Regions from separate parts of the Homo sapiens genome. Here region 1 is linked to region 2. The links are contacts of gene promoters, found by promoter capture Hi-C in human tissues and cell types (Jung and others, 2019). All regions are on one chromosome and are shown on one strand. Each heading gives the region's core, a stretch centred on a gene start or on the middle of the fragment in contact. The rest is flanking DNA. Distances are from core to core; before and after follow the strand shown.

Region 1 (5,411 bases), core at 2,680-5,179, 1.0 Mb before region 2:
TCCCTCAGCCTCCCAAGTAGCTGGGACTACAGGTGTGCGCCATCATGCCTGGCTAATTTTTTTTGTATTTTTAGTAGAGATGCAGTTTTGCCATGTTGGCCAAGCAGATCTCAAACTCCTGACCTCAGGTGATCCACCTGCCTCAGCCTCCCAAAGTACTGGGATTACAGGTGTGAGTCACTGCGCCCAGCCAGTTATCTGTCTTGAAGGTTAATCAGTCATTAGGTGTGAATCATTCCTAAATGTCCCATCTGATGTATTATACCCTGACATTTTCCTTTCTTCCTCCCACAGCGTGAGTGCATCTCCATCCACGTTGGCCAGGCTGGTGTCCAGATTGGCAATGCCTGCTGGGAGCTCTACTGCCTGGAACACGGCATCCAGCCCGATGGCCAGATGCCAAGTGACAAGACCATTGGGGGAGGAGATGATTCCTTCAACACCTTCTTCAGTGAAACGGGTGCTGGCAAGCATGTGCCCCGGGCAGTGTTTGTAGACTTGGAACCCACAGTCATTGGTGAGTTGACCTCAGTAACCCAAGTGAGATCCCAGGGTGCTGGGACAGGAGGTCTGTCCTGGGGGGGCTCCGCTGGTCACTCACCCACTCTCCCTCCCCGCTCCTTGTCCCTCCTCCTCCTCCCCCATCATGTTCTCCAGATGAAGTTCGCACTGGCACTTACCGCCAGCTCTTCCACCCTGAGCAACTCATCACAGGCAAGGAAGATGCTGCCAATAACTATGCCCGAGGGCACTACACCATTGGCAAGGAGATCATTGACCTCGTGTTGGACCGAATTCGCAAGCTGGTAAGTATAGTACTTTAAATAAAGTGGGATGAGAGTTTCTTTTGCAGTTCTGAGACCAAACTACAGAAATCATTCTTTGCAACTAAAATGAGACTATTTGCATTGCAACTAAAATGTATCTGTTCACTAAATTAATTGGATTTCTGAACCAGATGATCTTGGATTTATGGGACAACTATGGGGTAGAAGTAAGTGCTCTTTAGCCTATTTTGCTTCAAGCTGAGACACCCCTTTTGAGGTCATCTTAGTCATACTGAGTGAGTAGGTAGCTGACTTCTACATGTAACTAATTGATCAGAGTCATTTTTTAAAAATCTGGGATGGTTCCTTCATGTCAATACAGAAAGTTCAGAGAACAAGAAGCCAGTGTCACACTGACAAGAAACAGCCAATACTGGAAACTTCCAGTACTGCTGAAAGTGGAGTCGGGAGCTTCCTTATGAAGTGTGCTGTTTGGATCACTTTAATTAAGAGCCTGGCAATCAGATGACTCTTTGCTCCTTAGGCATGTGGGCAGCTTGTAAGTAATTAACCAGAGATCAAGCATGATGGTCTGGGCAGAGTAACTTGTCAAGAAAATCACATTGTATTAAGCCCAGCCATGACTGCTCCATTCTAAAATAGAATAGCCTCATCATTCATGGCTTCATACTTTCTCAGATGTTTACGTAGTCTTCCCAGCAAAACTGGACTGATGTTTCCGATGCTTAAAAACTAAGCTTTAGGCTGGGCACGGTGGCTGACATCTGTAATCCCAGCACTGGGAGGCCAAGGTGGGCGGATCATGAGGTCAGGAGATCGAGACCATCCTGGCTAACATGGTGAAACCCTCTCTACTAAAAATACAAAAAAATTAGCCGGGCGTGGTGGTGGGCGCCTGTAGTCCTAGCTACTAGGGAGGCTGAGGCAGGAGAATGGCGTGAACACGGGAGGCGGAGCTTGCAGTGAGCCGAGATCGTGCCACTGCACTCCAGCCTGGGCGACAGAGTGAGACTCCATCTCAAAAAAACAAACAAACAAAAAAAACCCTAAGCTTTAGTTATAAGCACTGACTTGGAAAATCAGGGACCTGCCTTTAGGACAAATAAACCTAGTAGCTATTTAGGGTTCTGGAACGTGAGGTTTATTGCCTACCAAAACAATTGCATTTGTCCTTGTCATTACTGTGCTCACAGGAGGCTTAACTGGTGTAATTGGTAGGCGAGAGTCTGCCCTGTGCATTGATCTCATGTAGTTGATGGACCCACAGGCTATAAGGGAGCTGAGTAGAGAATGTTCACAAATCTGAGGCCCATCACTTGGAGAAGCAAGAGTTTACAACAGAATACTTTATTTGGAAGGTCAAAATCATTCCTTCGTAAAGTAGCAGTTTGCTAACCAAAATAGCCCAGTTAGGTGGAGGAAATCCCCAACAACCTGAGGTCTCATGGAATTGTGGTTGTGTCACTTTACCCAAAATAAATGGGCTTCTTGGTACCTAGTGTCATATATTGGCTTACTGGGCCAATACTGTGCTTACTGTGCCAAGCACTATGCTGAGTACTTACTTAATTCTCAACCTAAGGTGATTACTATTCTCACTTAATCAGTGGAAGAACTGAGAAATGAATGTGGTCATACAGTAAGGAACTGGTACAGCCGGATCCTGACACAGCCTGACTCCAGTACCAGGGTGTTAGAACTTTGGCTATTCTGTTGTTCCACCTCAGAAAGCAGCTGCCAAATCTTTACAAGACATCCACTGTACCAGGCTGGTGGTCCTGGGCCTGCCCCTTAGGACCTCTCCAACTAAGAAACTGCCCTGTTCTGTGGCCACAGCAAGAGAACCAGAGGCTGCCTTCCCAGTTACCAAAACTTGAGCCCTGTATGCAAGCCCAGGCCTTGTGATTCCTCTGCCTAAGGCAATAGTTCATCTTAAAATAGTCTTAGCAAAGGTTTTTCTGCTCAAGGACTTGATTGTGAAAAGTTGTTCTGAATCACTTAGCACTTAAAAGCTTTTTTTTTTTTTTGGAGACAGGGTCTGCTCTGTCATCCAGGCTGGAGTGCAGTGGCCTGATCATCAGTCTTGAACCCCTGGGCTCAAATGCAAATGGTCCTCCCACCTTGGACCCCCAAAGTGTTGATTACAGGCGTGAGCCACTGCGCCTGGCCCAGAAGAGTTTTAAAATTGCAATTGGAGTAGCCATAGATTTATAGAAGTCCTCTGTAGGTTTCACCAAATGTGAACACTAAATGAAACTTTCGCAACACTAAAATGAAACTTTTTTATTTTGCAGGCTGACCAGTGCACCGGTCTTCAGGGCTTCTTGGTTTTCCACAGCTTTGGTGGGGGAACTGGTTCTGGGTTCACCTCGCTGCTCATGGAACGTCTCTCAGTTGATTATGGCAAGAAGTCCAAGCTGGAGTTCTCCATTTACCCGGCGCCCCAGGTTTCCACAGCTGTAGTTGAGCCCTACAACTCCATCCTCACCACCCACACCACCCTGGAGCACTCTGATTGTGCCTTCATGGTAGACAATGAGGCCATCTATGACATCTGTCGTAGAAACCTCGATATCGAGCGCCCAACCTACACTAACCTTAACCGCCTTATTAGCCAGATTGTGTCCTCCATCACTGCTTCCCTGAGATTTGATGGAGCCCTGAATGTTGACCTGACAGAATTCCAGACCAACCTGGTGCCCTACCCCCGCATCCACTTCCCTCTGGCCACATATGCCCCTGTCATCTCTGCTGAGAAAGCCTACCACGAACAGCTTACTGTAGCAGAGATCACCAATGCTTGCTTTGAGCCAGCCAACCAGATGGTGAAATGTGACCCTCGCCATGGTAAATACATGGCTTGCTGCCTGTTATACCGTGGTGACGTGGTTCCCAAAGATGTCAATGCTGCCATTGCCACCATCAAAACCAAGCGTACCATCCAGTTTGTGGATTGGTGCCCCACTGGCTTCAAGGTTGGCATTAATTACCAGCCTCCCACTGTGGTGCCTGGCGGAGACCTGGCCAAGGTACAGAGAGCTGTGTGCATGCTGAGCAATACCACAGCTGTTGCCGAGGCCTGGGCTCGCCTGGACCACAAGTTTGACCTGATGTATGCCAAGCGTGCCTTTGTTCACTGGTACGTGGGTGAGGGGATGGAGGAAGGCGAGTTTTCAGAGGCCCGTGAGGACATGGCTGCCCTTGAGAAGGATTATGAGGAGGTTGGAGCAGATAGTGCTGACGGAGAGGATGAGGGTGAAGAGTATTAACCTGTGTGCTGTACTTTTACACTCCTTTGTCTTGGAACTGTCTTATTTTTGTTCTGTAAATGTCTATTGCCGTAAATTGTTAATAAAATTGAAGTTTCCATTTTAAATGTCGAGCTGACTTAAATACTTGATCCAGTTAAAGTTGGATGTATGAGGCTGGTAGATGAAACCACCTGAGTCGAGGGTCTTGCTCTGTCACCCAGGCTGGAGTGCAGTGGCATGATAATACATAGCTCATTGCAGCCTCGAGCTCCTGGACTCATGTGATTCTCCTGCTTCAGCCTCCTAAGTAGCTGGGGACTGCAGGTGCACACCACCATGCCCAGCTATTTTTATTTCTTGTAGAGATGGGGCCTTGCTATGCTGCCCAGGGTGGTCTTCAACTGGCTTCAAGTGATCCTCCTGCCTCAACCTCTCAAAGTTTTGATTATAGGCATGAGCCACTGCCCAGCTTCTTGGTTTATCTGTTTAATTTGGGCCTGAATTAAGTGGTTATAGAATCATTTTGTAAGTGAGGAAACGGGTTCAGATTGAGCCAGTGCTTCTCTAACTAAAATGGATGTGAATCACCTGTAGATATTAAAATGCAGGTTTGGGGTCAACCTGGTGGCTCATGCACTTCGGGAGGCCAAGTTGGGTGGATCACGAGCCCAGGAATTCGAGACCAGCCTGGGCAACATGGTGAAAACCCATCTCTACCAAAACAAAAATTTGCATGCTGTGATGGCACCTGCCTATAGGTGGGAGGACCACCTGAGCCCAAGGAGGTTGAGGTAGTGAGCCATGATTGCACCACTGCATTCCAGCCTGGGTGACGGAGACCCCTGACTCTCAAATTTAAAAACAAAATGCAGGTTCTAATTCTATAGGCTTGAGGTGAGGCTTCAGACACGTCTTAAATTTTTTTTCTTTGAGATGGTCTCTTTCCCAGGCTGCAGTGCAATGGCACCATCATAGCTCACCCCCACCTTGACCTGGGCTAAGCCATCCTCCCACCTCAGCCTCCCAAGTAGCCAGGACTACAGGTGTGTTCCACCATGCCTGGCTGATTCTTGTAATTTTTTTTTTTTTTTTTTTTTTTTTTTTTGGTAGAGATGGGGTTTTGCCATGTTGCTTAGGCTGGCCTTGAACTCCTGGGCTCAGGCAATCCTGCCTCAGCCTCCCAAAGTGCTGGGATTACAGGAGTGAGCCACTACACCTGGCCCCTAGATACGTTTTTTAATAACCTCCCAAATGATGCTGTTGGTCTGATGTGACCACATGTACAGTAGCAAAGGGTTAGATAACAGTAACTGCTGGAGCCAAAATTCAAGTGCCCAGCCACACTGCCAGAACTATTGCTGTCAGTCTTTAA
Region 2 (4,876 bases), core at 123-2,622:
AAGATCTATCTAAAACGTGATCATCCTGCACCCAGGTTATACCTCTACAGGAACTTAGAACATGTTGTTAGGGGTCATGTTCTTTTGTGTCTACATCATACCTCAGAAGAAAGGATTGGTGTTATTTCATGGCTCCTGAAATATTTAGCATTTGTGAATAGTATTGGTAACCAAGCAGATAAAAGGTACTGTGTTAAACCATTTAAATCAAGAGCAAAAGAAAGAATACTTAATGCAAAAGAAAACCTCTCCCCAAAATGGGCATTGCCTTAAAAACTGATAACTCCCTAATTACCTTTGACTAACCTGAAAAGTCAAGTCAATTGAACCATCTGGATTAGGCAGATCTGGATTAGGCAGACTTATCTTTTATTTTTATTTATTTATTTATTTTTTTGTAGAGACAAGGGTCTCGCTAAGTTGCCTTGGCTGGTCTCAAACACCTGGGCTCAAGCGATCCTCCCGCCTCAGTTTCCCAAAGTGTTGGGATTATAGGCGTGAGCCACTGCGCCCGTCCAAGGCAGACTTTTGAAAGCTGGAATTAGGTGCAAGACAATAGTAGTTCAAATATCTCTCACCAGGATCAGCTAAACCGTTCTTGCAAGCATCAGTAAGGAGGCTAGGAAGGGTGCCAGATGGTTCGTTCCTAGCAGCTACAACTTCAAGCTTTAGTATGTGTAGCCAGGGGTGTACAATTACCTTACATTAACACCAACATATGTCGGGGGCAAGTGCCAGCGATATATACACGATAGCGATTCGGGGATGACACATCGGCTGCAAGGACTGCTATATTCTCAACATTCCTCAAAAGGGTGTAAGTGTCTTAAACAGAGTTCAGCTGGCGTAATGGAAGGGAGAAAAAATCGAAAAGAGAGGGAATGGCTGAAAATGAAGGAAAAAGAACAGTTGAATATTACAGTATTTCCCTGGAAGGAGGGTATTTGGAGTTTTAATGAATTGTCACCTTCCTCCACCACACCAGAAAGTATACAGTTAGAATGCAGTGTTCTCGGTGGGAGAGGACGGGGTATTTGCAGCTCCCGCCCTTGGGCAGCAAAGGCTCAGCCCGACATAAGCACTCCCCACCCAGCGCAGGCCCCAGAAGTGAGGAAAGAACGGAGGATCAGCGTCCCTCGACCCCTTATCTCGAGGGGGAGGGACTCACACTCCTTGCACTCCCCCCGCCCCAAAAGTCGAAGGAGAAAGAGGGTGTGGAGAGAAGCCGGGGTCTTCCCGCACTCTCCGGTTGTGGAGAGAGAAGGCCCTTACCTGGCTAAAAGCCGCCTTTCCTCTGCGCTGCTACCAGCCCTGTCACAGGTCCCGGCGCTCTACCTAGCGCACCTGTCGCGACCAAGCTGCTAACACCTACTGCTCCTGCGGCCCCGCCCCGGACCCCGCCCACCGCCGCGGGGGCGCGCACGCCAGACAGCCTCCCGTGCGGCCTCGGGCTGAGCGTGCGCGCCACCGGCTACGTGCCCAGCGCTCGCGTCTGCTCCAGTCGCTCTGGCGGTGCGGGGCGCTGGCGACGGGACAGGGTTTTTGCTGCCCGGGGCCTAGTCTACCTCGGCACGCTTTTCTCTGAAGGAGACACGCACTTGCACGACGTGGGCCTCTGTGCAGCTCTACTTTGTCCTTAACTCCTCTGACTCAACGTTATCGCAGTTTGACTCTGGAGCCACTCAGGTTTTTCCTAAGCTCAACTCTAGCCAGCTAGGTTCCTGGTGCTTTGGGGGTAAGTTGTGTGCAGGGAGGGTGTTTTACAGGAGGCTGTGTGGTGTAGTGGAAAAAGCTGAATTAAGTACATTAATCCTGAAAACGGTTTGACAAGGGCAGATGACGTCCAAGTTCTCCAACAGCTGTTTTTACTCCTCCATTCAGAATAGGAGCTGTGCTAATGGTTTGGAGACCGTCAATTGGCCTAGCACTTGGCCATCCTGCCCCCAAATTCTTGTCCCAGTTCCGTGCCAGCTGCATGATGCCTTTTGATAGTATCCTTCTTTCCTGTACCTCAAGCATAGTAGGGTTTCAGACCACAAGTTTTCTGAAGCTTTTCGGAATTCATGCAGCTTGATGCGTTATTAGTAGGGGCTGCTCGTGGGAAAACGCTTGTAATTACACTTCCTCAAGAAGTTAATGAAAATGTGTGAGAAGAGAGATTTCCAACAGGTGATGAATATGCCAGCCAGTTATTCCCTTCTTCCTTCAAATATCCAGCCTAGACTGATTTCTGGATAGGTATTGTAGAAATAAAAATTTCAGACAAAACAAACTTAGATTTTGAATCGGACAACAGTCAGAACCAAAAGAGGCTCAGACACCCCTGCTCTAGCTGCCCAGGCATCAAACTTTATAGGCTGAACACGAAAGTAAAGAAATTTGATTGGCTACAGCTAAGCGTTTGCCTTATTTGGGTATGGTCACATGGGAGGTCCCTAATTATATAACCACTTGGCTGGTTGTCTGTTTGTGATTGGTTGAAACTCCATTCAAAATCAGGTACAAGGGGCCGGGCGCGGTGGCTCACACCTGTAATCCCAGCACTTTGGGAGGCTGAGGCAGGCGGATCCCCTGAGGTTAGGAGTTCGAGACCAGCCTAGCCAACATGGCGAAGCACCGTCTCCACTAAAAATACAAAAATTAGCCGGACGTGGTGGTAAGTGCCTGTAATCCCAGCTACTCGGGAGGCTGAGGCACGAGAATGACTTGAACCCGGGAAGTGGAGATTGCAGTGAGCAGAGATCTCGCCACTGCACTCCAGCCTGGATGAGAGAACGAGACTCCATCTCAAAAAAACAAAACAAACAAAAGGTGCAAGGAATACCTCTAAATTTTGGGTTGCTTTCTGGGTACAAAAACAACTCCAAACTAATGGCCTGCTACTTATTTTGCATTAACAGTATCAAGTATCAAGACTCCAGCAAAAGTGGCAGACAGCATGGGAATGCTAAAGAGCATACAATATCAATACAGGATAGTACTCCAGAAAATACGTTACCCTGCATGTGGCGTTCCCTCAATAGATGTCTCCCCTCCCCCCAATTTTTTTTAGCTCTGTGCTTTAGTGGATACAAAAATTACTTGCTTTCCCAAAGCCTCCTTTTGAAGATAGAGCTAGCATTAGGTTGATTGCTAAATTTTCAGGGATTTTATGAGCCAGGTCATAAGCACAACCATTATTAGAAATCAAATTATATAAGCTACAATTAAATTATCTTAAAAATAAAAGTAATAGGCCAGGCATGTTGAGTCACATTTGTAATCCCAGTGCTTTGGGAGGCTAAGGCGGGAAGATGGCTTGAGGCTAGAAGTTTGATGTTGCAGTGAGCTATGATCACACCACTGCACTCCAGCCTGGGCAACAGAGTGAGACCCTATTTCTAAAAAAAAATTTTTAAATATAATAAATATTAAAAACTCATCACTTTGTAGTTTTTTTCTTCATTTTACTAATAATTCTGCTCTTGAGGTTATTTGTCCATTGTATTCCCTGTGGAAATACTACATATGTTGTATGCATCTCTTCCCAACTCTATTCAGAAATGTCACATTGGTAGCACGAAATTGGCTGTAAGGGGAGTATTTACACCATGGAAATGGGCAAATGCAGCAAGTCAGGGCGTGATTTATTGTTTTGTTGATTTTTCTAGACCATATGTTAGCAAACCTTTTGTGTAAACAGCCAAATAGTAAATATTTTAGGCTTTGTGGGACTTATAGTCTCTGTCACAGCTACTCAGCTCTCACTGTAGTGCCAAATGTGCCAAAGTAGCCATAGACAATACTTAAAGAATGGGCATGGGCCAGGTGCAGTGGCTCACACCTGTAATCCCAGCACTTTGGGAGGCCCAGGCAGGGATCACTTGAGGCCAGGAGTTAGAGACTAGCCTGGCCAACATGGCAAAACCCTGTCTTTACAAACAAATAAAATAAACAGACAAAAAAGCTGGGTGTGGTGGTGTGTGCCTGTAATCCCAGTTACCTGGGAGTGTGAAGTGGGAGGATGCCTTGAGCCCAGGAGTTGGAGATTGTAATGAGCCGAGATCACACCACTGCACTCCAGCCTGGGCGACAGAACAAGACCCTGTCTCAAACAAAAAACTCATAGGCCTTTATCTGATAGTGAAGGGAACAATAGAGTTGAAAGGGAAAAATGGAGTAGATACAGGCAAATGTTTACATACATGATACGGTGCAACAAGAATAGCAGAACATACTGCAAAAGAAATTATGTCAACATATTTAAGAATCTTGGAAGAGAATGGCAAATATGCACTATAATTGATGAGACATCTACATATTGGAAGAAAATTACCTAGAGATTTATCTCCAGTACACAGTTGAATAAGCTTCTGTACTGGTAAAGATATTTGTTGCTTTAAAAGAATTGGTGTCAGCTGGGCACGGTGGCTCACGCCTATAATCCCAGCACTTTGGGAGGCTGAGGTGGGCAGATCACAAGTGGGCGGATCACGAGGTCAGAAGTTCGAGACCAGCCTGGACAACATGGTGAAATCCCATCTCTACTAAAAATACAAAAATTAGCCAGGTGTAGTAGTGTGCGCCTGTAGTCCCAGCTACTCAGGAGGCTGAGGCAGGAGAATCGCTTGAACTCCAGAGACACAGGTTGCAGTGAGCAGAGATCACACCATTGCACTCCAGCCTGGGCAACAGAGCGAGACTCCATCTCCAAAAAAAAAAAAAAAAGTAATTGGTGTCTGCCACACAGATTATATTTCTACTACATTATTGTCTATTTTACTTTTTTTCTTTTGAGGCAGAGTTGTGCTCTGTCCCTCAGGCTGGAGTGCACTGGCACGATCTTGGCTCACTGCAACCTCTGCCCCCTGGGTTCAAGTGATTCTCCTGTCTCAAC

The links. The method cuts DNA at HindIII sites, captures the fragments that hold promoters and counts their contacts. A contact is called where the count stands out against the background at its distance.
Region 1: a contact is called between a fragment that was not itself captured here and the fragment with the promoter of LIMA1 in region 2, in 1 of the 25 tissues and cell types used here (pancreas).

Annotation. Positions count from the first base shown.
Region 1 is chr12:49,269,171-49,274,581 of GRCh38, forward strand. TUBA1C (tubulin alpha 1c) reads left to right here. Exons shown (of 4, transcript NM_032704.5): 2 at 295-517; 3 at 658-806; 4 at 3,083-5,411. The coding sequence ends at 4,057. Among named protein-coding and RNA genes, the nearest start is that of TUBA1C, 6.8 kb to the left of the region's middle. RefSeq lists a silencer at 4,816-5,110. The HindIII fragment of the contact is 6,713 bases long and covers 574-5,411 here.
Region 2 is chr12:50,282,148-50,287,023 of GRCh38, forward strand. It overlaps LIMA1 (LIM domain and actin binding 1), which reads right to left and starts at 1,373. Exons shown (of 11, transcript NM_016357.5): 1 at 1,273-1,373. LOC107984505 (a long non-coding RNA gene) reads left to right here and starts at 1,474. Exons shown (of 2, transcript XR_001749144.2): 1 at 1,474-1,735. RefSeq lists a silencer at 1,284-1,593. The HindIII fragment of the contact is 3,196 bases long and covers 4-3,199 here.